6 separate regions of the Homo sapiens genome follow, and all the other regions are linked to region 6. The links are contacts of gene promoters, found by promoter capture Hi-C in blood cells and fetal thymus (Javierre and others, 2016). All regions are on one chromosome and are shown on one strand. Each heading gives the region's core, a stretch centred on a gene start or on the middle of the fragment in contact. The rest is flanking DNA. Distances are from core to core; before and after follow the strand shown.

What was found. Contacts are between HindIII fragments. The CHiCAGO score rates a contact against its expected background, and 5 or more counts as called.
Region 1: a contact is called between the fragment with the promoter of SEPSECS here and the fragment with the promoter of POLR2B in region 6, in 3 of 17 cell types (non-activated CD4 T cells, total CD8 T cells and fetal thymus). The highest score is 7.7, in non-activated CD4 T cells.
Region 2: the fragment with the promoter of LRP2BP here is called in contact with the fragment with the promoter of POLR2B in region 6 in 1 of 17 cell types (non-activated CD4 T cells); the score reaches 8.2 in non-activated CD4 T cells.
Region 3: the fragment with the promoter of SCLT1 here is called in contact with the fragment with the promoter of POLR2B in region 6 in 2 of 17 cell types (total CD4 T cells and total B cells); the score reaches 7.5 in total CD4 T cells.
Region 4: a contact is called between a fragment that was not itself captured here and the fragment with the promoter of POLR2B in region 6, in 2 of 17 cell types (total B cells and non-activated CD4 T cells). The highest score is 12.9, in total B cells.
Region 5: a contact is called between the fragment with the promoter of HNRNPDL here and the fragment with the promoter of POLR2B in region 6, in 1 of 17 cell types (fetal thymus). The highest score is 10.3, in fetal thymus.

What each region holds. Positions count from the first base shown.
Region 1 is chr4:25,158,931-25,162,764 of GRCh38, forward strand. SEPSECS (Sep (O-phosphoserine) tRNA:Sec (selenocysteine) tRNA synthase) reads right to left here and starts at 1,519. Exons shown (of 11, transcript NM_016955.4): 1 at 1,326-1,519; 2 at 23-177. The coding sequence starts at 1,439. It overlaps SEPSECS-DT (SEPSECS divergent transcript), which reads left to right and starts at 1,742. Exons shown (of 2, transcript NR_037934.1): 1 at 1,742-1,823. RefSeq lists a silencer at 1,203-1,372 and an enhancer at 1,483-1,782. The HindIII fragment of the contact is 2,962 bases long and covers 1-2,460 here.
Region 2 is chr4:185,394,646-185,398,338 of GRCh38, forward strand. It overlaps LRP2BP (LRP2 binding protein), which reads right to left and starts at 1,279. Exons shown (of 9, transcript NM_001377440.1): 1 at 134-1,279. It overlaps ANKRD37 (ankyrin repeat domain 37), which reads left to right and starts at 2,196. Exons shown (of 5, transcript NM_181726.4): 1 at 2,196-2,305; 2 at 2,505-2,657. The coding sequence starts at 2,279. RefSeq lists silencers at 1,402-1,591, 1,812-2,181 and an enhancer at 1,712-1,781. The HindIII fragment of the contact is 1,591 bases long and covers 761-2,351 here.
Region 3 is chr4:129,092,021-129,095,681 of GRCh38, forward strand. It overlaps SCLT1 (sodium channel and clathrin linker 1), which reads right to left and starts at 1,519. Exons shown (of 21, transcript NM_144643.4): 1 at 1,050-1,519. The coding sequence starts at 1,083. It also overlaps a transcript of C4orf33 not described here. RefSeq lists an enhancer at 1,214-1,783. The HindIII fragment of the contact is 3,346 bases long and covers 1-2,148 here.
Region 4 is chr4:25,232,293-25,235,982 of GRCh38, forward strand. PI4K2B (phosphatidylinositol 4-kinase type 2 beta) reads left to right here and starts at 1,741. Exons shown (of 10, transcript NM_018323.4): 1 at 1,741-2,139. The coding sequence starts at 1,872. LOC105374535 (a long non-coding RNA gene) reads right to left here and starts at 1,573. Exons shown (of 4, transcript XR_925490.3): 1 at 1,497-1,573. RefSeq lists silencers at 1,531-1,840, 1,941-2,180, 2,221-2,280 and enhancers at 1,567-2,068, 2,069-2,568, 2,501-2,630. The HindIII fragment of the contact is 3,001 bases long and covers 261-3,261 here.
Region 5 is chr4:82,428,583-82,432,316 of GRCh38, forward strand. HNRNPDL (heterogeneous nuclear ribonucleoprotein D like) reads right to left here and starts at 1,880. Exons shown (of 8, transcript NM_031372.4): 1 at 666-1,880. The coding sequence starts at 1,108. It overlaps ENOPH1 (enolase-phosphatase 1), which reads left to right and starts at 2,008. Exons shown (of 6, transcript NM_021204.5): 1 at 2,008-2,331. The coding sequence starts at 2,248. RefSeq lists silencers at 329-498, 809-1,048, 1,419-1,818, 1,939-2,258 and enhancers at 544-1,339, 719-778, 1,099-1,188, 1,340-2,135, 2,499-2,598. The HindIII fragment of the contact is 3,206 bases long and covers 1-2,740 here.
Region 6 is chr4:56,977,553-56,981,184 of GRCh38, forward strand. POLR2B (RNA polymerase II subunit B) reads left to right here and starts at 1,344. Exons shown (of 25, transcript NM_000938.3): 1 at 1,344-1,452. The coding sequence starts at 1,434. NOA1 (nitric oxide associated 1) reads right to left here and starts at 54. Exons shown (of 7, transcript NM_032313.4): 1 at 1-54. The coding sequence starts at 33. RefSeq lists an enhancer at 1,618-1,717. The HindIII fragment of the contact is 1,293 bases long and covers 1,238-2,530 here.

The DNA.
Region 1 (3,834 bases), core at 269-2,768, about 32 Mb before region 6:
TGTACTACTTAAAAAAAGATACCTGTAATGACGACGAGCAACCAGTGCGGATGCCACTCTCCCTTCCCTTTCTCCCACACCACAATTGCCTAAGAAATTGTTGCTGTCCATGATTGCAAGTTCATGTAAAAAGAGTTCAAGTGTACTTTCATCCCAGCCATTCTCTGGACACTTGCCCTTAAAAAAAAAAAAAAACTTATGATTATATTTAATAAAACTACCGTTCTCTAGAATACTACAGGAATACAGTTTTTCTTTTTAACGTGTATTTTGCCACGCTGCTTGTTTTCTAAAATTCAAGCATAAATTCACCACTGTATAGAGACCGCAAAGAGGCAAAACGTTTGTACATTTGATTACAATTATTTACAGATTTCGAGAAGTGATGATAAATGCATACAATGAGGTTTACTGAGATATTTAAATTTCCGTAAGTGAAACTAACTGAAAACCAATACAACACATCCCCAGTGAAGATGCTTCAAACCAGGGCGTTACGACTGGGGCGGTGGGACGTGGAGAAGGGCGGTAGTTGTCAAACTTCAGTGAAATTTTGGCCACGCGCTGTAGCTCACTCACGCCTGTAATCCGAGCACTTTGGAAGGCCAAGAATGGCCGATCACTTGAAGTCAGGAGTTTGAGATCAGCCTGGCCAACATGGTGAAACCCCATCTCTACTAAAAATACAAACATTAACCGGGTGTGGTGGCGGGCGCCTGTAGTCCCAGCTACTCGGGAGGCTGAGGCAGGCGAATGGCGTGAACCCGGGAGGCGGAGGCTGCAGTGAGCCGAGATCGTCACACTGCATTCCAGCCTGGGCGAAAGAGCGAGACTCTGTTTCAAAAAAACAAAACACAACAAAACTTTTAATGAAATTAAAATACATGAACGCTGGCAGGAGGGAGACCTGTGAAGTTCCGCGGAAAGCTCGTGGTTCGAGTTAGCATACAGTCTACAAACACCATTATGTGTTCTGAGTCGTTGAGGGTTGGTGAAAGATGGAGGTGCGAACTTTGCCCTTTCCGCGAATAAAAAAGTACACTGGGACTTTCCCTCACTTCCGCATCCCGAAGTTAGAAACAGCGGGACTCAAAACCCCGACCCCAACACCCCCTCCTAACAACACCATTTGGCTTTCACTGGCTTTGGCAAGGCTGAGAAGGCACAGACCGCAGTCGGTCAGCTAGGGCAAGCCAAGCTGAGACAGACTTGGGACTAGTCTCAAGCAGCGAAGAGCTGCCGGTGAGGCAGCACCAGCGGGGACGCCCGGCGGAGCCAGAGCCCCGGGGTCGCGGCGGCTGGGGAGGGGACCGACAGCTCGGTACCTTCTCCAGAAGCAGCCGTATGAGGTGCTCATGCGAGCGGCGGGCCTCACAGCCCTGCCGCACGTAAGCCGGCGACACCAGCCGCTCTCCCGCCGCGAAGCTCTCGCGGTTCATGACAGCGGTGGCGACAGTGGCGAATAAGCGGGAGCACTAGCTCCACACGCCAGACACACGACGGAACCAGAATGCAACTCGCCGCCTGGACGGTACGGCAGCGCCTTGGGACAAAAAACAAAACAAAACAAAACAAAACAAAAAAAACACTTCTCGTTCGTGCACATGCGCAGACCTTCTCAGATGGCGCTCCAGGAGGAAGTTGGCGTATTTGAGCATGCGCGAGGGAGTCCGCGCTTTTCGCTGACTTTTGGCAAAGGAAGGACTGAAATTAGCCCCGCCCCGCTGCGGCTGATTCGTCTAGTTAAACCCTGGTGTTCCTGACACAAACTTCAGGAAAGGATTTTGCACTTGTGCAGACCGGGCGAGCAGAGTAAGAAGCAGGTACGTGGGTTTTTCCAAGTTCTGTGTTTCAGTCCTGTTGGATGGTTGAGATCTGTGCAGGGTCTGTGCTTCCGCCTTATTCAAACTGTCAGATGCCAGAACCTTCGATCTTTACTTTGATACATTTCCACACTTATTACTGCCTCACAACCCCATAGGAAATAGCAGTGCCCCACTCATTTTCCCCTTGACACTACTGTTTAGCCATAGCACTTACTACTCACCACGTGACATGCCAGACGTTTGTTTATACACACACACACACACACCCATACCCATGAATGTAAACTCTCTAACCTAACGGCAGGACCTCGGTTTTTGCTGCGGTGCCCCCTTCCCCCGGGCACCTAAAACAGTGCCCAGAATAAAGTAGGGCCTAAAAAAAAAGTTGATATTGAATTAATGAATTAGTTTGACCATTCTGAAACTATCCCCAAGAACATTTTGTAAAATTGATTAAGGAGGGGAAAAAAATCCAACTAGGCTTACAGCTGCTGTTATTAAGCCAGCTTGCAGTGTGGCCGACTTTCTTGTAGCTGGTTGCTACTTACTACCCCAGGAGAATGTGGCCCTTGTCACAAGACTCTTCATTCTTTTTCTGCTCTGAAGATAAAATCTAAGACATTATGAGAAGATAAGCTTTCTGTTTGCATTGCTTCTTTAGGTCCCGCATACCAACAAAACTAAGGACGCCAACTTGTCTGGAAGGCCCAATAAAAAGCTGATTCATGGAGGAATGCAATTGTCACATCCTAATGATTTCATCTCCCTTACCCCAACGAATCGATAACCCCAAATTTTCCAGCCCCTCACCCTCCACAAATCCCCTTAAAAAACTTTGCCTAGAACCCCTTGATGAAATGGATTGAAGCTTGAGAACTCTTCCTGTTTCCTGGCTTGTAACTTGTGATTATTAAAACTTTCTCTGCTGCAAGCCTGCTGTCGGAATACTGGTCTGTTTCTGCACAGCCGGCATAGGAACCTGGCAGTGCTGTAACAGTTCAACAACTTAGAGGTTCACTGCTGGAGATCCCTGCCTCCAGTTTCCTTACAATCTTCATCTTATGTGAGCCTACAGTAATTCCTGACATTGCTTTCACCTGGTGGTTTGTCCATTTGCACTGAGTCACACCCACTTGCAAGAGCTGATTGTTAAATGTTCAGTAATTTTGTGAGCTAGTTTTCAAATACAGCCACTCAAAAATTATATTACAAGCAAAAGTAAAAATACTCAAAATTTGTCACTTCCTAATTATTTTACATTTTACTATTATCTATGCTCTTCAGGTTATTTACATGCATTTTATCTATATGGTGGAAATTCAATGTAATGTTATACTACTGCACATCTTCCAACTCCTCTTTTGATGATGTCACGTTGGCCATGGTGGGAGCATTTACACCATGGAAATCAGTAAACACCGCTAATCAGGCCCTTACACTCCAACCCACTCCCCTAGAAGTCAGTTGTTCAACATGTACCAGCTCATCACTGTTTCTACTGCATGTTCCCATGGCATCCAGCTATTAATATAAATCAGTCTATTTATGGTATTTGTTGAATTGCATTTCAATTGTTAATTTTCTGTCTCAACTAGACTGTGAACTCCTGGTTCACAAGGGCTATACCAATATCTGTGTTCAAAGCACAGCACTAAATACATAATAGCTGTTTGATAAATATTTGTTGAATGACATAGAGCATTTAACTACTTTAAACAGAAAGGTAAACCACAAAACAACAAGAATTTAGCATACTTTCTAAAATGAGTATTTTTCAAACTTTTGGAAAGTTGTGTTCCTATTCTCAAAATGCAACTATTTTTGCAACTTCTTCTTTGGAAAAGCCTTCAAAGCTGCTTTGTCAATCACATGCAAAATGTGCAAAAATCCCAAAATTAATGTCATTACTGAATGGACACGCCAGGTTTTTGAGCCAGCTTCTTCTCTTACCTTATTCACCACCTTACTTCAGAAAAATGTTTGTCTGTTTCCAAAAAGTTAGTCATTG
Region 2 (3,693 bases), core at 29-2,528, about 130 Mb after region 6:
ACTACATATAGTGCTCTCAATACTGGAAGATATTTTACACTTCTTAGAAATACTCTTCCCTTCCTGGACTCCTTAGCAAACTCTTACTACTCAAGATTCAGCCCACACATCTCTCATCTATTCGGTCACTTACTCATCATCCAACGTTTTTTTTAACACTCGCTGTAAATGGCATCCTCGTTCTGGAAACGCATCTACCAGCAATTAAAACATGTAGAATTAGCACTGCTTAGGAGAACGCCTATAAAATATGCATCTTAGATCATCTTCCGTTTTAGAAAATTGATCCCACCTGCTACACGCCTGGTGAAACTCCAGTTACTTGCCAGTAAGATATTGTCCCCCAAATGTACTTATCCTGTTTTTGTGCATTATAAGCTTTGTTCAGTTTATAGTTTCTAGGCCCATTACTAAAGTCAAGTCAGATATCCAGCTGAGATACAACTTTTTTTTCTGAAAACAATGTGAGCAATGGACAGGTACGCTGTGATTAAAGGGAGAAAAGCTGTAACGACTCCCCAAATTTCCTTTCCTTATGAAATTTACGTATGTAACAGGAAGTTAAAAAATAACTACCACTTAATGCATACTGAACAGAATCTTGTTTCAAAGAAAAGATATGAAATATGGAGGCACTTTCACCACACAAATATCCCACTACATATGCTAACTGCAGTATTTATGTTCAAAACTGTAAGAACGTGTCTGATACCCTTTATTAGTTAGGAATTCCTGAAAATGAACTTCTGTGCAAACCTGAAGCTTCAACACGTGTTTTAAAAAGCAGTGCTTATTGAATTGATAAACAAAAGCGAAACTGGCAATATCAACGTGTGCTCACCTCACAAATCTGACAACAGTATCTCTACACTGCCGTTCTTTAAACATCATTAAAAGATATTGTGAATAGTTTAAATATTAAAAATGTGGAATATAAGAACGATTCTATATATTTGAACACACATTTATATTCAAATATTCATATGAATAAAAATGCTTAAAACTACCCCTTGGGTAACTAAGTATAACAACATAAACTTGCGATTGCAAATTTTATGGCTCTTACTACAAAACAAAAAGTAGAATGAAAAGACCACTTATCTTTAGAGGACAAGCATGAACTTGTTTTCTAACAGCATAACAATAAACGTATTTATTTCTCCGAGCTTTCAAAGGCATCAACAGAAGGGAATCACTAAAAATGTAGGGGAAAAGAAACACTCGGCTGGAGCTTTGGTTTCTAAGCAGATCCTTCTGGAAAGACGCTTAGGGAGAGTCTAGGGAGCAGCTCTGACGTCAGTAGCTGCCATCGGAAGTCAGGTCATGTTCTACAAAAAGCAGTGACGCACGCCCGACAGCACCCGCGGGGCCGGACAGCGGCTTCACCAGCCCCGCGGGTCCGAATCGCACGCGGCCGGGTCCGCTCTCCCGGGAGGAGAGCCCGGCGTGGACCAGCGTGACGACCCCAGCGTGCTGCGGCCTCTCCCCGAGGGCCCCTCCACAAGGGTCCCTGCGCGGGCCGGGCTCGGCCGTTGCCACTCGGGACAGCCATCCCCTCGAGTTCGCGCTCGCCGTCCCCGCCTTCACCTCCCGGGTTGGGAGGCGGGCGACTGCGCGCGAGGTAAAGGAACTTGCGTTCCCCGGCGCCGAGGCGGCAGCAGCGCAGTGCACAGCGGCTTCTGAAGGCGGCGTCGACGGGGAGCTGCGCGTGGCTCCCAGTTTCCTGGTTACGTGCGCGCCGGCAGAGCCAAAACCTGCAGCCGAAACTCCCGCTTCTCCGTAAGGATTAAAGGGCGGGCGCACTACCGGGAGACGTGTCAAACTCAGCGCGCCTCATGGCGGCCGCGGAGCCCCACCCGCTCCTACTCCAGTCCTCTCACGCCCACTGACTTACCCTGCGCACGCGCGCTGAGGCTCCGTGGGGCCGCCGCGGGCCCCGCCCCGAGGTGGGAGGGCCTGACGCATCCACAGCTGGCCAATCGGCGGATGGCCTCGCGCGCCCGCCCCCTCCCCCTGCCCCCGGCGCCGGGCTCCACGTGCCAGTGTTTGTGTACGTGCGGCCGTGGCGGGGCTGGACAGGGTCCGGGTCGTTGAGGATTAGGCTGCTCGGGCGTAACCGGAGCTGGGGCGCGGCTGCCAAGGGCCGGCCCGGAAGTCCCAGCGGTCTTTAAATTCTCCCGTGCTAGGGCCAGCCTGCGCATTCTTACCTGTCGGGGTGCGGCGAGTGTCTCACCTCTCTGCACTTCCAAGGACTCTTGTCATCTGCCTTAGGCGGGAAATGCTGTTGCTGGATTGCAACCCCGAGGTGAGATTCGGGCTCACAGAGCCCGAGCTTTTGTCCTGCAGGCTCAAGCTTCTAGATTCGTCTTCTCGTTAATGCGGGGACGGACCACTGGGCGCTGCCTGGTCAGAGCTGGTTGTGAAGGGCGGGGAGGTTTCCAGCCCGGAGGGGCGCGGGACTGGACAAAGGTGGGAAGGGTGCTGGATCTGTTCTCTTCCTGCAGGTGGATGGTCTGAAGCATTTGCTGGAGACAGGGGCCTCGGTCAACGCACCCCCGGATCCCTGCAAGCAGTCGCCTGTCCACTTAGCCGCAGGAAGCGGCCTTGCTTGCTTTCTTCTCTGGCAGCTGCAAACGGGCGCTGACCTCAACCAGCAGGTAACTAGGTAACTGTTGCTGTGTACAGCCGTCCCCTCCAACCCAGACACACACAAACATTTCTCAGACGCCAAGAGTTGTTTCAGCTGTTAAAAACATGTCTATAGCAGCGATGTCCAACAGAAATATAATGCAAGACACAGATGTAATTTAAGAGTTTTTTTCCAGTCTTGATGTGAGGACATGAGAAATTTGAAGTTTTTAAGTAGCCACATTAATAAACGAAACATGAAATTTTAGTATTTGACCCAATTTGTCCAAAATGTTATCAGTTCAATATGTAATCAAAGCAATTGCTGATTAGATATTTTACACTTTCTTTTATTCTGTCTTCACAATCTGGTGTGACAGCGTATCTCAAATCAGACTAGCCACATTTCAAATACTCTAGCCTTAAGTGGCTGTTGACTATCATATTGAACAGCACAGATCTAGTTTATTTCAAAAGAAGTAATTGCTACATTACCAAAAGTCTCCCTGCAGCAATTGAAATACTTAGGAGCTATGTCCACAAGCATTCTAATTTCCTAAAGAGTTTTCTTACTGTAGTTTGCATCTTCCACTGAATATTAAAGCATGGTGAATTTTAAATTGTAAACTTTTCTGGAAGAACTCTTTTTATTTGCTTACATTTTAATGTATGTGCATATGGCTACACGTTTTTATTTATTTGAGACGGAGTTTTGCTTTTGTCGCCCAGACTGGAGTGCAATGGCGCGATCTCGGCTCACTGCAACCTCTGCTTCTTGGGTTCAAGAGATTCTCCTGCCTCAGCCTCCCTAGTAGGTGGGATTACAGGCACGCGCCACCGTGCCCGGCTAATTTGTGTATTTTTAGTAGAGACAGGGTTTCACCATGTTGGCCAGGCTGGTCTCGAACTCCTGACCTTAGGTGATCCGCCTGCCTCAGCCTTCCAAAGTGGTGGGATTACAGGCGTGAGCCACCGCGCCCAGCCACACATTTTTATTAATGAAAACGGTATGAAAAAGCAAACTAAAAGAACTAATCAAAAATAAAAAGCTTTTGCAGCTTACCG
Region 3 (3,661 bases), core at 269-2,768, about 72 Mb after region 6:
GCCCAACTTAGTTTACTTCTTACCTGAATGATGACAGTAGACAACTAACTGCACTCTGCTATAATGCATATTCCCCGTAAAAATCAGACCGGGCCTTCTAAACTACAATTTGATCATGCCACTCTCAACTGAATTCCTATAACCCATGCAATGGTCCATACTCCTTAGCACAGAGAAGACAGGGCCCTTCACCATCCAGCCCCTTTCTACGCCTTCAACTGCACTTGCCATTTCCCTATATAAATATTCCAATTCAATTTACATCAATATTACACTCAAACCAGCCGTATTGCAAGTCTTTAACAAAGCATATTCCTAATCCCCTCAGTGTCACAAATATTGTTCTATTTGGGATGCCTAGAGTTTTTCATATAGTAAATTCATATTTGTACTGCACGTTTCAGCCCAATAGCACCTTCCTTGAACATATTTTAATAATAATCGTGTAATAGTTAATATTTGTTTAACACAATGTATCAGATACTATTCTAAATCCTTTACATATTTTAATATTCATTTAATCTTTCCAACAACCCTATGAGACTGTGGCAAAAGAGCCAGCAGTTGCTGTCACTTCAATATATTTTGGAATACATTTCCCTCCCCAAATTAAATTCTTGGAGGTAAAAACTGTCCTGTTTATCTTTGCAGCAGCTGTTCTTCCATAGTGTCTGGTACATAATAGAAACAGGAGTTCAATAAACATCTTTTTAATAAATGGCCAGAGAGCTGTGCCCCTAGATTTTAAATGCACACTTGGAAACTCCTGCTGGCCATTAGCCTTCTAATCTTCAGAGCACGAGAGGAGCATAACAAACATGTTTAGCGTCTAGTAGAATTCTGTGTAAGCTACAAGTACTACCACACGGTTCTGCTTAAATATACACACATCCTCACGTATAACATCAAGGTTTTTTTTTTCCTGCAACTAACTTCTTTAACTCTTTACCAATTTAAATGTACCCAACCAGCATTCAAAAAAGATTTGTCGGTCAACGACGACGATATTAAACATTGTATATGAAGTCTCAAAAAAACATGGAGCTTACTTTGCTCTCTCAGAAAGTCGATTTCTGCAGCCATTTCGATACAATTTTAGTTTAGAGCTTTCACCACCTTTACCTTCCTCTGAAAGACAGAGAGCTTGCTGTGCGGGAAAACAAAACTAAGCCAACGCTCGGTTGGTTGTCAAGCGCTCCAGCGGTGCAATCTGCATCCTACTCACGCGGCATCTACAGCCCCGCCACGCTTCTTTCCCCCGCGCCCCAGACGAGTCCCTGGCCCTGGTGAGAGACTGAAGATTGCTGGGGACTCCACGTTCAACCGAATCCCACGCTGGTGGGAAGAGGACGCGGTCGATACAGGCGTCCCGCGGGTCACTCTGGGTCTCGTCGGGCCACCTAGGAGAGTGCCGCGGGAGCTTGACGGCAGCCTGAGAGCGGCGTTCTACGCGGAGCGGCGGGGGTTGGAGAGGACAACGCCAAGACGGCTGGGAAGCCCCAGGCCAGCAGCGGAAGTCCACTCGGCCCGCCCTGCGACTTTGAAACCGGTGCCCCGGACCACTCCTTGGAGACGGTGGCGCCTCTTGCGTCATCACGCGGGCGTTGGAGCTTACGCCATCGCGCGTCCTAGAGTCCTAGCACGCTATTGGCTGGCTGTCAAGCAATGGGAGGAGTCGTGAGAACCTGGATGACAGCGGGCTGAGCCACCGGCTTGGCGCGGCGGCCAAACTGGTGGGACAGTGTCTCCAGGTAGTGAGGCCCAACCTCTTTAAAACAAACAAACAAACAAACAAAAAACCAAAATGCAAACGTGAGTAGAGAATGAAATACACAGTTTAAATGCCCTCACTATCTTTGGGTTACTAATATACTAAGCCTTTCTGGACTAAGTAAAAGATGCAGGTTCCTGCGGCTAGGGATAGAAGCCAGACTGGCGTCTTCAGAATCTCCCACCAAGGCTGTACCTCTGGAGGAGTTCTAGGTTTGGATTTGGTCATCTCAAGAAGGTAAGTACCTTCTCGGTCTTTGTGGGTCTTTAGACAAAGGAGACAACTGTTGTTTAAATATTTAACTGTGTAGTAATAAAGCGTGTAGTTAGAAGTACTCAAAAGATCTTGCAAATTCAGCAGCTACTTCTTCAAAGATAAGCTTGTTTCCTCAAATATAAGGAAAGATAAAAGGTACTTTTTTTTGCAAAAAACAAAACGGTAAAACTTACATTTGTGGATAGATTACAATTTTCATTTTTGAAAATTAATTTTGTCTGGACTTAAAACGTATTTTTTTAAAAAAAATCATTTAACATTAGAGGAAATCTCACCACTAGCAACAAAAATGTTAACTTGAAGCTAGCCACTAGTTTTGTGCTTTTAATAAATTGTATTTTTATGGACTGAAGTAAAGTTTCACTAAACAGGCATGTCATAGATGCAGCTTGATTTGGCTTTCTGTTTAACGGCTTAAGAGTTTTGTTGTCCCGTACTCATAATGTCATATAAACAAAGTAACCTTAGCGATATGTGTTAAGAAATTTTAAAAATGTATTCAAATATATGCAGTTAGGCATCTGAAGGCCTTACTCAATACTCACTGTTAATAGAATGAGATGGTCCCTTCCTCTAAAGACTAGCTGTTAAATATGGATGTGTAGCTTAATAATCATTGAAAAGGTCTAATCCAGCTTTGAGTTGGTGATAATTGAACTTGTTCTGATTTTTAGTAGCTATAACGTTTACACAAAAACTTTTTGTATAAACGTTATAGCTAAGGGAAAATTGAGTGTGCAAGGTCCAACTCGTTTTTGAAGTTCAGTATATGACTCTTTCTTCATAAACATCTCACTGACTCTCCAAGGACTTGCTTGTAACTTCTCCCACATTTGAACCTTGTATATTGTCGTATTTCTACTTGGCATCAAATAAATAATTATAGACTTAACTCTACGCTTACACCCAAACTGGATGGAAGCAAATACCTTCTGGCTATAACTGATGAGTGGTATTTACATAAAGTGAATATCTCAGGTGAAAACTTTTATGTCTGCACTCGAATTTTTTAGCTTACATGATCATAATTATGATCATGATAGTTTTTTGTTTTTGCGTTTGTGTTTGTGGTTACAAGATTTTAGTAGTTGAATTTTAATGGAGTATTTTCAACATAAGTTTCATCATTAGGAAACAAAATTGTGATGATTTCACTTATCCTTAAAGGATCCCCTCTCATGTTCCTCCTTTTCACATCTCCTGAGTTCTTTATCCACTTCTCCCAAGGTAGGTGCCACCTTAGTACTTACTTCATGCTCCTTCCTGCATTATCTGTCATGTTTTGTAGTTTGTCTCCAGGCTCCATCATAATACCTGGAACACAGAGTTGATTAAATATCTGATGGAAGGAATGAAAGAATTCAGTGGATGTTCATGAAAAGTATCTATTAGTATAAATTGAATACAAGGAATGACAAGCAGAAATGTATGTAGTTTGTGTGTAACTCTTGTCAAGCCACCATTTAATGTTTTTATATGACTTTTCTGCAATAAAGAAAACCCCTAAAGTTGTATAGATTGAAAATTAGTGACATTTCACTAACATTCATTTGGTTGATCAATTGACATTGAGCACCCAGTACTATGTGCAAAGTACCAGGAAGAATACAAAGT
Region 4 (3,690 bases), core at 511-3,010, about 32 Mb before region 6:
AAATTAGCCGTGCATGGTGGCAGGCACCTGTAATTACAGCTATTCTTTCTTTAAAGCGGAGAAGGCATCAGGGAAGAGGGTTGTAGGTGGTGAAGCAAATGGTTACATTTTTGCTAGACTTTAGGTAGTGCCCAGTAACTCTATGCTATGCATAAGATAAGGTGAATATTCAAAGAAAATGGAGTAAAGGAAGTTAATTATACAGATATCTCAGGTGAAGGAATGATTGATCTTATCCTTGTTCTGCATCTGGGAAGATAAGCTTGTAACTGAATTTATCCATGTGAAATTTAACAGACTTTAGTTGTACCAGTTTGATTTAGGTTGCAGACTTAAAGTTATACAATTGACACGTCCTTGTTTTATGGAAGGATATACATCTTGAAAGGTTTAAGGGCCAGTAAAGAATTTACTATGATTAATTTGTTGAGGACAGTCATCCTGAGACTGAGATGCATAAGGCTTTTTTTTGCATTTTGAGGAGGGTCTGGCTAACATATAAAGTTTTAATACAACTATGGGAAGTAACAGCTATCCATTTGGGAAAAGCATTGTAGTGTTGAGTGACTTCAGTCTCCAGGCTTAACTCTCCCTTTGACATAACAAGTTGGGGGTGGGGGGTGGTTCTGAGATTTTTATTTTCCTTTACAGGGTCAAAGAGGAAATCATAAAGGAAATTAAAAACTATTTTCAGCTGAAGGAAAACAAAAGCACAGTAGCAGGCCAGGCAAGGTGGCTTATGCTTGTAATCCCAGAATTTTGGGATGCTGAAGCAGGACGACTGCTTGAGACCAGGAGCTCAAGACCAATCTGGGCAACAGTGAGATCCCATCTCTACAAAAAATTTAAATTTAAAAATTAACAGGATGTGGTCGTGCACACCTGCAGTTCCAGCTACTGTGTCTTCTACAGTTTAAAGCTGAGAAGATCCCTTGAGCTTAGGAGGTTGAGACTGCAGTGAGCTATGATTGTGTCACTGCACTCCAGCCTGGATAACAAAGTGAGACCCTGTCTCAAAAATAACAACCACCAAGAAAAAAAAAAAGGAGAATTCAGCTAAAGCAGTGCTTAGAGGGCAATTTATAGCCTTAAAATACTAGCATTGGAAAAGCAGAAAGATCCAGAATCAATCATCTTCTACTCTAAGCAACTAGAAAAAGAAGAGGAAATCAAAACTCAAGTGAGCAATAAAGAGCAAAATAAGGCAATGGACCAGAAAACAGAAAATCAATGGAACCAAAACATGACATTTTGAAAAGATTTAAAAATTGATAAACTTCTAGCTAGATTAGTCAGAAAAAGAAAACATACAAACTGCCACTATCAAGAATATCTGAACAAAGACAAGGTCCCTGCCCTCCTGGACGTCTACTGGAGGAAAGAAATGTCATACAATTAAATCTATAGTTACAGATTATGGTAAACTCTGAGAGAGAATTCTGTCAGGGAGAAGCCGCTTTTGGTTGCAGGAGGGCACCTCTTTGAAAATTACTCACCTTCCCGCCCTCCACTGGGAGTAAAGCGAGCTGTGCCCAGCTTCTCCCCGCGCTCACGGAAGCAGGTGGCGGCCCCACCCCACCTGACCCCTCAAAAGCCCCGCCCCCTGTTCACTCCCACGTGCCCCGCTGCCGCCGCCGCCGCCGCCACGACCCTTCTGCGCAGGCGCGGGGGTGGTGCCTGGCGGAGGCGCGAGGTGGGGCGCGGCCGGCGGCGAGGCGGGACAACCGCTGGGCGGGCGCCAAGCGTGCCCGTGCGCTGGTGAGGTGGCGTCCGTTCTACCCGGTCGCTCCCGTTCCGCGCCATGCAGAGCCCAGTCTCTGGCACCTGGCTGCTCTGATCTGGTCTCAGCGCGGAGGGAGCAGAGGGAGTCCATGGAGGATCCCTCCGAGCCCGACCGGTTGGCGTCCGCGGACGGCGGGAGCCCGGAGGAGGAGGAGGATGGGGAGCGGGAGCCGCTGCTACCGCGGATCGCCTGGGCCCACCCGCGGAGAGGCGCCCCAGGCAGCGCCGTGAGGCTGCTGGACGCTGCCGGGGAGGAGGGCGAGGCCGGCGACGAGGAGCTGCCCCTCCCGCCCGGGGACGTGGGGGTCTCCCGGAGTTCGTCCGCCGAGCTGGACCGGAGCCGCCCCGCGGTTTCAGGTGCGACCCGGCCCTGCCCCACTCCCCGCGCCCCTCCGGGCGGCTGCCCCTGTCGCCCGGCTCGGTCCTGTCTCCCGCGCGCGCTGGCCGAGGTGGACGGGCTTTCCCCGCTCGCTGGGCAGCAGCTCCCGAGCTCGGACCGGCGCCAGCCGCAGCCGCACCGCGGGCACCTAGCTTGCTCGCTCTTTCTCCGGGAGCTCCCTCTCCTAAGGCCAGTGGTTGTCATTAAACCGATTCTTTAGACCTCCCCGCAAAGTGAGTCAAAACTTCTAGAAACCGACACTGGGGAGAGGTTAACGCTGTAAAATGACGTAAGTCCTTGCTCAAGTTTGGACTTGACTTTTGAATTAAGAACCTTGAACTCTCAGGAAAGTTCCCGGAGTGGTGAATTTGCAAAGTGGATGACAGGAGAGAGATGGACAGCCAGAATATCCAGTTGCCACTGGGGCACGTTTCAAAACCTTTTTCTATTAAATGTTGTTATTATGAAGTTAGCCACAGGGGGCAAAAGCAGTTGAAAGTCTGTTCCTGCCCTCTTACAGTTTAGTTTCTCTTTCTTGATTTACTTCTAATACATAAGAAAACCAAAACGAAAAACCTCTTTTCGCTATTAAGCGGACTGATAACCTCAGGCGAAACAGGGCAGTTGAAATGATGTTGAAGGTTAAATTTAGGTATGCTGTGCAGGCCTGGATATTTATTAATAAAGTGAGTTTTTCTGGCGTGTTGAATGGAGTTAGACAAATGTGATGGAAATAGCAAGAGACTTGTAAGACTCTCAGCTAGAGGTGAGACAGACTTGTTTGTAAAAAGGCGATGGTACACCTCCCTGCTGGTTGTGAGGATGGATTAAATGAGATGTTGTGCACCCGGTTGGTTTATCGCTTCACACATGACAACTTAAAAACCACAGAAAATGGAAGTTTCTTTAACACTGCTTAGTTTTTTTTGGAATTGTTAGATTTTAAATGTACTGTTAGTGGTACACTAATGTGTCCTTTACAGTTTAAAGAATTTTGGATAGAATCGGTCACTCAAGTTCTAGCTAGAGGCTACATTCAGGCATATTCTAGAGTAAATAAATCAGAGAATCCCAAGGGGAGCAGTTTGTCTGATTGTTTAAGCTTTAACCAACGTCTGCTCCCGTTATAATGTTACCTGATGGATGCATTGACGTTTAACCAAACAACGTGAAGCTGAAACCAGATCACAAACGGGTCTGCATTTGCCTAGCTACATTGGCAATTTGGGTATATGTTACTTAGAATTTAGTCTGTAAAATAGCTAGCTTGCCTTTTTCTGTCCCTTACCTTGTGTAAGCTACCTTGTGTACCTGGGTTTTTAAAAGAGCCTAAAGCCTTCAAAATGCACTTGTTCTGTGAAAGTGAGGTGTTTTATAAACAAACAGTATTAAGGCTAGAAAAAAATCAAAGCGAGAGGTCAACGAGATGGCAGGCCTGTAATCCCATCCCAGCATTTTGGGAGGTCTAGGCAGGAGAATAGCTTGAGGCTGGAAGTTCGAGACCCACCTGGGCAACATAGCGAGATCCC
Region 5 (3,734 bases), core at 630-3,129, about 25 Mb after region 6:
TATGTCACACAAAAATCCCAATATCCCAACGAAGTTACTCAAACCAGCGGACAGCTCACTGTCCGCACTACATAAAGCAAAGCTCAAAAGAGACCAATAAAATACAGTAAAGGTTCTGCCCAGATTCCTTTAGGTAGAAGGCACAACTTCCTAGATGAATCCCTCACATCTTATCTTACTTAGGTCCATCTTCGTTCTCAGCTGTCAAGCCAACGTTCCACCCAGAGAACTCATCAATCATAACACGTTTTGTGAATCTGGGTACCAGTCGCCTGCTTGTGCCCCAACTCAGTCCTCTAAAACTCTTCCCAGGAAAACCGCGCCGAGTGGTAACAGAGACACAATGAAGAGGCGGCGGCAGCTGCAGCGTGCAGCGCTGGGAGGCCGGCCCCTCCCCCCCGGGTCCCACGCGGCGCCTGCGCGCTCGGGACACAGACGCCGCCGCCCTCCTCCTCCAACCCCTCCGCCCTTCCCCCACTCTTCCCGGGTCTCTCCAGTCACCCCCTCGATCTCTTACTTTCCTCTTCCCTCCAATCTAGTGGGGCCCAGAAGGCACGCGGGGAATCGACTCTGAGAAAGAATGGGGGCAGCGCGCGGCTCACGAGGAACGAAGGGCGCGTGCGGCGCGCTGGGGGAGGGGGAGCGGGGGAAGAAGCGTGCGGTACCCGTCATCCTGCTGATTCTTGCTCGCGTTGATCTTGGATCCCTCTGCGAATTCCTCTATATTGCTGTACTCGTTCATATCCTCCATAGTGACGGAGCTGTCGGCAGGGGGGTGCTGGCGCGCAGTCCGGGTCGCGGCAGCAGCGGCGGCGGAGCGTTGTATGGAGCTGGATTTAAAATGGCGGCGGAAGAGATCCGGGCGCCGCCTGCGCCCTCCCTTTATAGCCGCCCCGCCCGCCAATCGGGAGGGCTGCTGGGCGGTGACGTGGCGCTGGGCCCGGCGCGCCCCCTGCCGGGCGGAGCTGGGAGCGAGCGAAGGGAGGAGCGGGGCTAGCTGCCGCGGCGGCCGCGGCCGCCAATGGGAGAGGCTGCGGGAGGCTAAAGTAGCGGGAGCGGAGGGGAACAATGGCGGCGGCACATGGGAAAGCCTGGGCGGGACCTCCATCGCGGCCCTCCCGGCAAGGAGAGAGGCCACGCGTGAGGGGACGCGGGCTTGGGAGAAGAGAAGAATCAGAAGAGAAAAACGAAGGGGCGTAAATTCCTGGGGTCAGCAGTCCCGAGCAGAGCCGACGCAGGGCCACAGTCCCTCTTGCCTTGGGAGCCTTTGTCTCTGGCGTCCGGTCCAGCCCACTCCTACCAAAAAGCCGTCAACCCCGCCTTTTTCTGCCCTCGGTTCGCCAGTGCGGAGCCGCTGCGGCGGCCGCTGCTACCGACTAGCACCGCGGCCAGTCTGCTCCGGAAAAAGGCGGACTGCGCCCGGCGCTGGCGACTGAGGCGGCGAGCGCGCTCGCCCGCCGCGCGCACGCGTGTTTTGTCCTCGAGCTGGCAGGAACCAGCCGAACAGGAAGCGGGCGCGCGACGGCTCCTCCGGGCAGCGCAGCGCGGGCGCCTCTTCCACTGTGACCACGGGCGCGCGGGCCAAGGGGGCGCGGCGGGGCCTCCCGGGCTGATCGGCCGAAGCCCGGGCCCCGCGCGGCCTCTGGCGGGCTGACGCCGGGAGGAGGGGCGGGGGCTGGCCAGATGACTGTATCTATGCAAAGGCGGAGGCGGTGGGCGGGGAGGGGGCTGGATTCAGTAGAGGGCAAGGGGCACTCACATCCCCGGCGCGCCACTCGCGGGGCTCCTTTCTGCACGTGCCCCGGGCCTCTCCCGCTCGCTCAACCTGTCTGCGGAGGGCGCGCTCTCGCGCACCCTGCTCCCGCGTTCGCTTCTTTGTTCCCGCCCACGCGAGGCCCATTTTGACGGATCCAGTTCGAGGCCTGACGGCGGCCAATCGGCGCTGGCGCCTTCACCCTCCCCGCCCCGCCGAACCCGTCAAGGGCCGCCCCTTTTCCTGCCCACGTGGTCTCGGGCTCCTGCCCCGTCCTGCTCACGAGTTCAGGGCTCCTGGGCGGCCGCCTTTTCCAGTTCCAGGTGTGCAGAAGTGTCCTCTCCCCACGCGCGGCGGGCTGCACTTGGTCGCTGGCTCCGAGATCGCGCGGGGCCGCCGGAAGCCCAAGACGGTACCGGGGGCCGCAGCCGCAGCCGGCGCCGCCCTCCGCCCTCCCCAACAGCAGGCCGAGTCCCGTAGCATCCGGTAGGGAAATGGTCGTGCTTTCGGTCCCCGCCGAAGTCACCGTGATCCTGTTAGATATCGAAGGTACCACAACCCCGATTGCTTTCGTGAAGGTGAGGGGCGGAAGGGAGCGGGGATGTTACTTTTCCTTAAAAACAGTTATTATTTTTTCTAAGTATTTCAGGCCTTGCATTGGAGACGAGGGTTAGGAGAGGCGGTGTGGCTGCCTCTTGTGTGGAATGGGGAGGAAGGAGAGAAAGCCTGCGGTGGGTTGCGGGGATGCTTTTCCTCGCGACACTAGCTTCTCCCTCCCCCGCCCTTGCGCTTGGTTGGATCCAGATGGGTGGGAAGGGATGGAAGTTGACGCTAAAAATCACCGAAGGGCAGGTAAGCCGGGGCGGGGTGTGACGGTGCGGGCCTCGCCACCCGGCAGGTGTGCACCCGGTCGCTTCCGCAGGTGAGCGCAGCCTTTCTGCTCCGTCGGGCCTGGTGTGGCAGCGGCAGCGATTTAATGGTCCTTAAAGCTTCCGATCTCAAAATGGAAAGACTGAAGTGTCAAGATGACTTTTCAGGTGGCCCTGGTGTCGGGCAATCAAGGTTCCTCTTCGCCCCTTCCCACTCTTGCTGTTAGTGGCCAAACTGCACAGTGTATTATTTTACTCTGTTAGGCGCTGTGGTCCATAGCGCTGATTTTTTGAGCTATAGGACACGTCTAGATTCCGTTCACTTTCCTCAGAAAACCACAGAAGCTTGAAGCTCTTATCCAGAGCATTCCTTCTAGGATGTCACTGTGAACCAGCACTTGTCTGCACCTCAGCTTGCAACTTAGCGGATTCCTTCTTTATTCTTTGTCTGTTAGAATAAGCAAATATGAAATGTTACTTTAATTTTTGAAAGAATTCCTCGGGCCTTGTCTTTTTATTTGGCTCCCTGAGGTTTAAGAATTCATTGCAGATACAAGTACTTCTTAGAGGTGCTTGCATGCACAATAATAGTCGAGATATACAAAGTATATTACCAAGTAGGAAAAATCCATCTTCCAAGAAACTGAGCAGCTTGGGTTTTAAATTCTATTTTAGTTTCCATTTTTAAAAAAAATTATCTGTGAATAAGGCTTTTTTTTTTTTTTCTTTGAGAGTCTCACTCTGTTCCCAGGCTGGAGTGGAGTGGAGTGGTGCAATCACAGCTCACTGCAGCCTCTACCTCCTTGGGCTTAAGGCATCCTCCTGCCCCAGCCTCTCGAGTAGTTGGGACTGAAGGGAGAGCCACCATGCCTGGCTAATTTTTGTATTTTTTGTAGAGACGGGGTTTCGCCATATTGCCCAGGCTAGTCTGGAATTCTTGGCCTCCCAAAGTGCTGAGATTACAGGCATGAGCCAAGGCGCCTGGCCTGAATGAGTTTCTTGATGTAGGTTATAATATAAAATCCATGTACACTTTTAGGACACCAAACATAACAACCTTTAAAATTCTTTTAGAAGAATCACAGTACCTTGACATCTTAGCATAGGTTCAG
Region 6 (3,632 bases), core at 94-2,593:
CAGCAGCCTGAACGGTAGGCGAGCGGGCAGCATGAGGAAGTAGCTCCAAAGGGGCGGAGCCACCAGCGCGCACGCGCACTAGGGTCCGAGGCGCGCATTTGACCCGAGACGAAAGCGCGTGGGTACTTGGGAGCTGTCCTGGTTGGTTTTGCGTCTAATCCCGTCAGTTCTCGCGATTTAAGCTCTGAGACTGAGAACCTACTTAAAGCTATGGCAAAGGCACTGGAGGATTGAGCTAGGTGGGCAGAAAAGAGCAGTGAGTGTTTTGGGTTTTTTCACTTTCAGGCTTAACGCCTCACTGCTAGCACAAGCCGCCCTTAATAAATCACACTTAAAAAGGAGCTTCCGGGGTCGGGCGCGGTGGCTCACGCCTGTAATCCCAGCAATTTGGGAGGCCGAGGCGGGCGGATCATGAGGTCAGGAGATCGAGACCATCCTGGCTTACACGGTGAAACCCCCATCTCTGCTAAAAATACAAAAAATTAGCCAGGCGTGGTGGCGGGCGCCTGTAGTCCCAGCTACTCGGGAGGCTGAGGCAGGAGAATGGCTTGAACGCGGGAGGCGGAGGTTGCAGTGAGCCGAGATCGCGCCACTGCACTCCAGCCTGGGCGACAGAGCGAGCCTGTCTCAAAAAAACAAAACAAAACAAAAACAGAAAGGAGCTTCCGGCCGGGCGCGTGGCTCACGCCTGTAATCCCAGCACTTTGGGAGGCCGAGGCGGGTGGATCACCTGAGGTCAGCAGTTCGAGACCAGCCTGGCCAACGTGGTGAAACCCCGTCTCTACTAAAAATACAAAAATTACCCGGGCGTGGTGACCCTTGCCTGTAATCCCAGCTATTTGGGAGGCCGAGGCAGGAGAATCGCTTGAACCCGGGAGACGGAGGTTGCAGTGAGCCGAGATCGCTCCACTGCACTCCAGCCTGGGCGACAGAGCGAGACTCCATTTCAAAAAATAATAAATAAATAAAAATAAAAAATAGCTTCGTGTTTTGGTCCTTATAAAGGCAAATAAATTGAGCATCCCAATGTTGCGGATTCACAGGACGAACACTTTTTAATAATAAGTATACCTGGTTTTGTTTTCAGGTGTCGTTATTTGTGCAACAACATTGAAAAACAAGCAGAAATAAAACATTGACGGAACGGATACGACCGCAGATTGCGGGAGCTGTCCTCTCAATCAGCCCGGCAGCGGCGGCCCACAATTTACGCGTGTGCAACCCTAACCCCGGCCCAAGCTTGACCTACAATTTGCGCAGGCGCAGATCCTAACTTTGGCGTCCCTGTGGGCGGCCTTTGGTGTGAGACGCGTGGTATTCTGGGAACGTCGGAGACGGAAGTTACTTCGTCTTTAGCTCCTGGCGCTGCTGGCTTCTGGGCGGTTTTTGTCTTTTGATTTCAAGAGTTAGGAGCTCGAGAACCGTTTGGCAATATGTACGACGCGGATGAGGGTAGGTGAACGCTCAAAACACACGCCGTGGCGGTCCATTTAAGCAGGAAAGCGTTGGGAACTGATTGGATTGAGGATTTGGGGCCTTCCCATGCGCCGGCTGCACAGTCCCCAGCCTTGTTCCCACACTTACCAGGCCGGGAACGAAACTGGGGTAGGGAGAGGCGGAGGGTGCAGGGAACATAGTGTTAATGTTCCAGGTTACGTTCACTGCTGCTCTCTGCACTTTCTCGTTCCGTTAGATCTGATCCTCGTTTCCTGTGGTGAAGTAGCGTGCAGAATCGTAAGATAAATTACGTTTTGAATTTGAAGCAAAGGGCACCCTTTAAAAATTTTCCTTAAAGCCACAGTCGACTTAACGAATAGCTCAATTGTTGAGTGTCAGCCTGTGTCAGGCAGTGTGGAAGGTCCTGGAAATATTCCGGGACAGAGAATATCGGGGGGTGGGGGTGGCGGGGGGGACTCGGTTTAGTCTGACATTTCTTCATACTGTTTGTAAGTCAAAGTAAATTGTCTTAAAGGATGACTTTTAACTTCCTCTTCTCACAATGTCACAGTTCTCAGATGATATGTATTCTGCTGCACTGGGCCAATGTATAATACCTGTTTGTTTGCGCATATGGAATTCTTAGTAGTGGCCGAGCGCGGTGGCTCCCGTCAGCACTTTGGGAGGCCGAGATGTGCAGATCGCTTGAGACCAACCTGACAAACATGGGGAAATCCTGTATCTACTAAAAATACAAAAATTAGCCTAGTGTGATGGCGTGCGCCTGTAATCCCAGCTACTCGGGAGGCTGAGGCCGGACGATCGCTTGAGCCCAGGAGGCGGAGTTTGCAGTGAGCTGAGATCGCACCACTACACCACAGCCTGAGTGACAGAGTTAGACTGTCTCAAAAAAAAAAAAAAAAAATTCTTAGTTGAGTCTAGTGTATTTTCGTAGCCGCCTTTTCCATTCTCCATATCTGCTAATTCAAACCTTATTTTCTTATAGCTCTCAATTCCTTGGCCACCCCCTACATCTCCTCTCTCTATTCCCTCAGGTACTTCTGATAAATCAGATGGAAAAAATTGAAGCAAAAGCTTAATTTTTTTTTTTTTTTTTTAAGAGATGGGGTCTGGCCATGTTGCCCAGGCTGGTCTCAAACTCCTGAGGTCAAACCATCTGCCTGTCTCGGCCTCCCAAAGTGCTGGGATTACAAGCATGAGCCAATGTGCCCAGCCAAAAGCTTAAACTTTTAAAGCTGTTTAAACTTCTGTCTCATTTATATCTTGTGTTGTAGAAATTTATTAGCATCATTATATTCCTTGTTCTTTTTTAACTACTATCTCAGTAGAAGAAAAATTCGAAAAAAAAGATTTTTAAAGCATAATTTTTGGCTGGGTAATATATTCTCATAGCTCACAAGCCAGAAAATTTAAAAATGTTAAAGTGGGGTGGCTGGTGCAGTGGCTCACGCCTGTTATCCCAGCATTTTGGGAGTCTGAGGCGGGTGGATTACTTGAGCTCAGGAGTTCGAGAGCAGCCTGGGCAACATGGGAGACCCCTCTCTATAAGAAATAGAAAAATTAGCTGGGCGTGGTCTTGCTCACCTATAGTCCCAGCTACTTGTGGGGCTGAGGCTGGAGGATCGCTTGAGCCTGGGAAGTTGACACTGCTATGAGCTGAGAACAAAGTGAGACCTTGTCTCAAAAAAAACAAGTTAAAGTGTCACGTCTCCTTCTTACCCACCATCTGCCCAGTTTGAACTCTCCACAGTGGGTAACTACAGTTATAACAGTTATAAGAGGTTCTTATCACTCCACAGTTTCTTTTTTTTTTTTTGATGGTCTTGCTCTGTTGCCCAGGCTTGAGTGTGGTGGCGCAATCTCGGCTCACTGTAACCTCCATCTCCCAGGTTCAAGCAGTTCTCCTGCCTCAGCCTCCCGAGTAGCTGAGATTACAGGCGTACACCACCGTGCCCAGCTAATTTTAGTATTTTTAGTAGAGATGGTTTCTCCACGTTGGCCAGGCTGATCTCAAACTCCTGACCTCAGGTGATTCACCTGCCTCGGCCTCCGAAAGTGCTGGGATTGCAGGTGTGAACCTCCAAGCCCAGCCTCCACAGTTTCCTTATGCATATTTAAGCAAATATAAATGGGATTTTCTCTTTTTTTAAAGACAGTAATATTCACACTTTTCT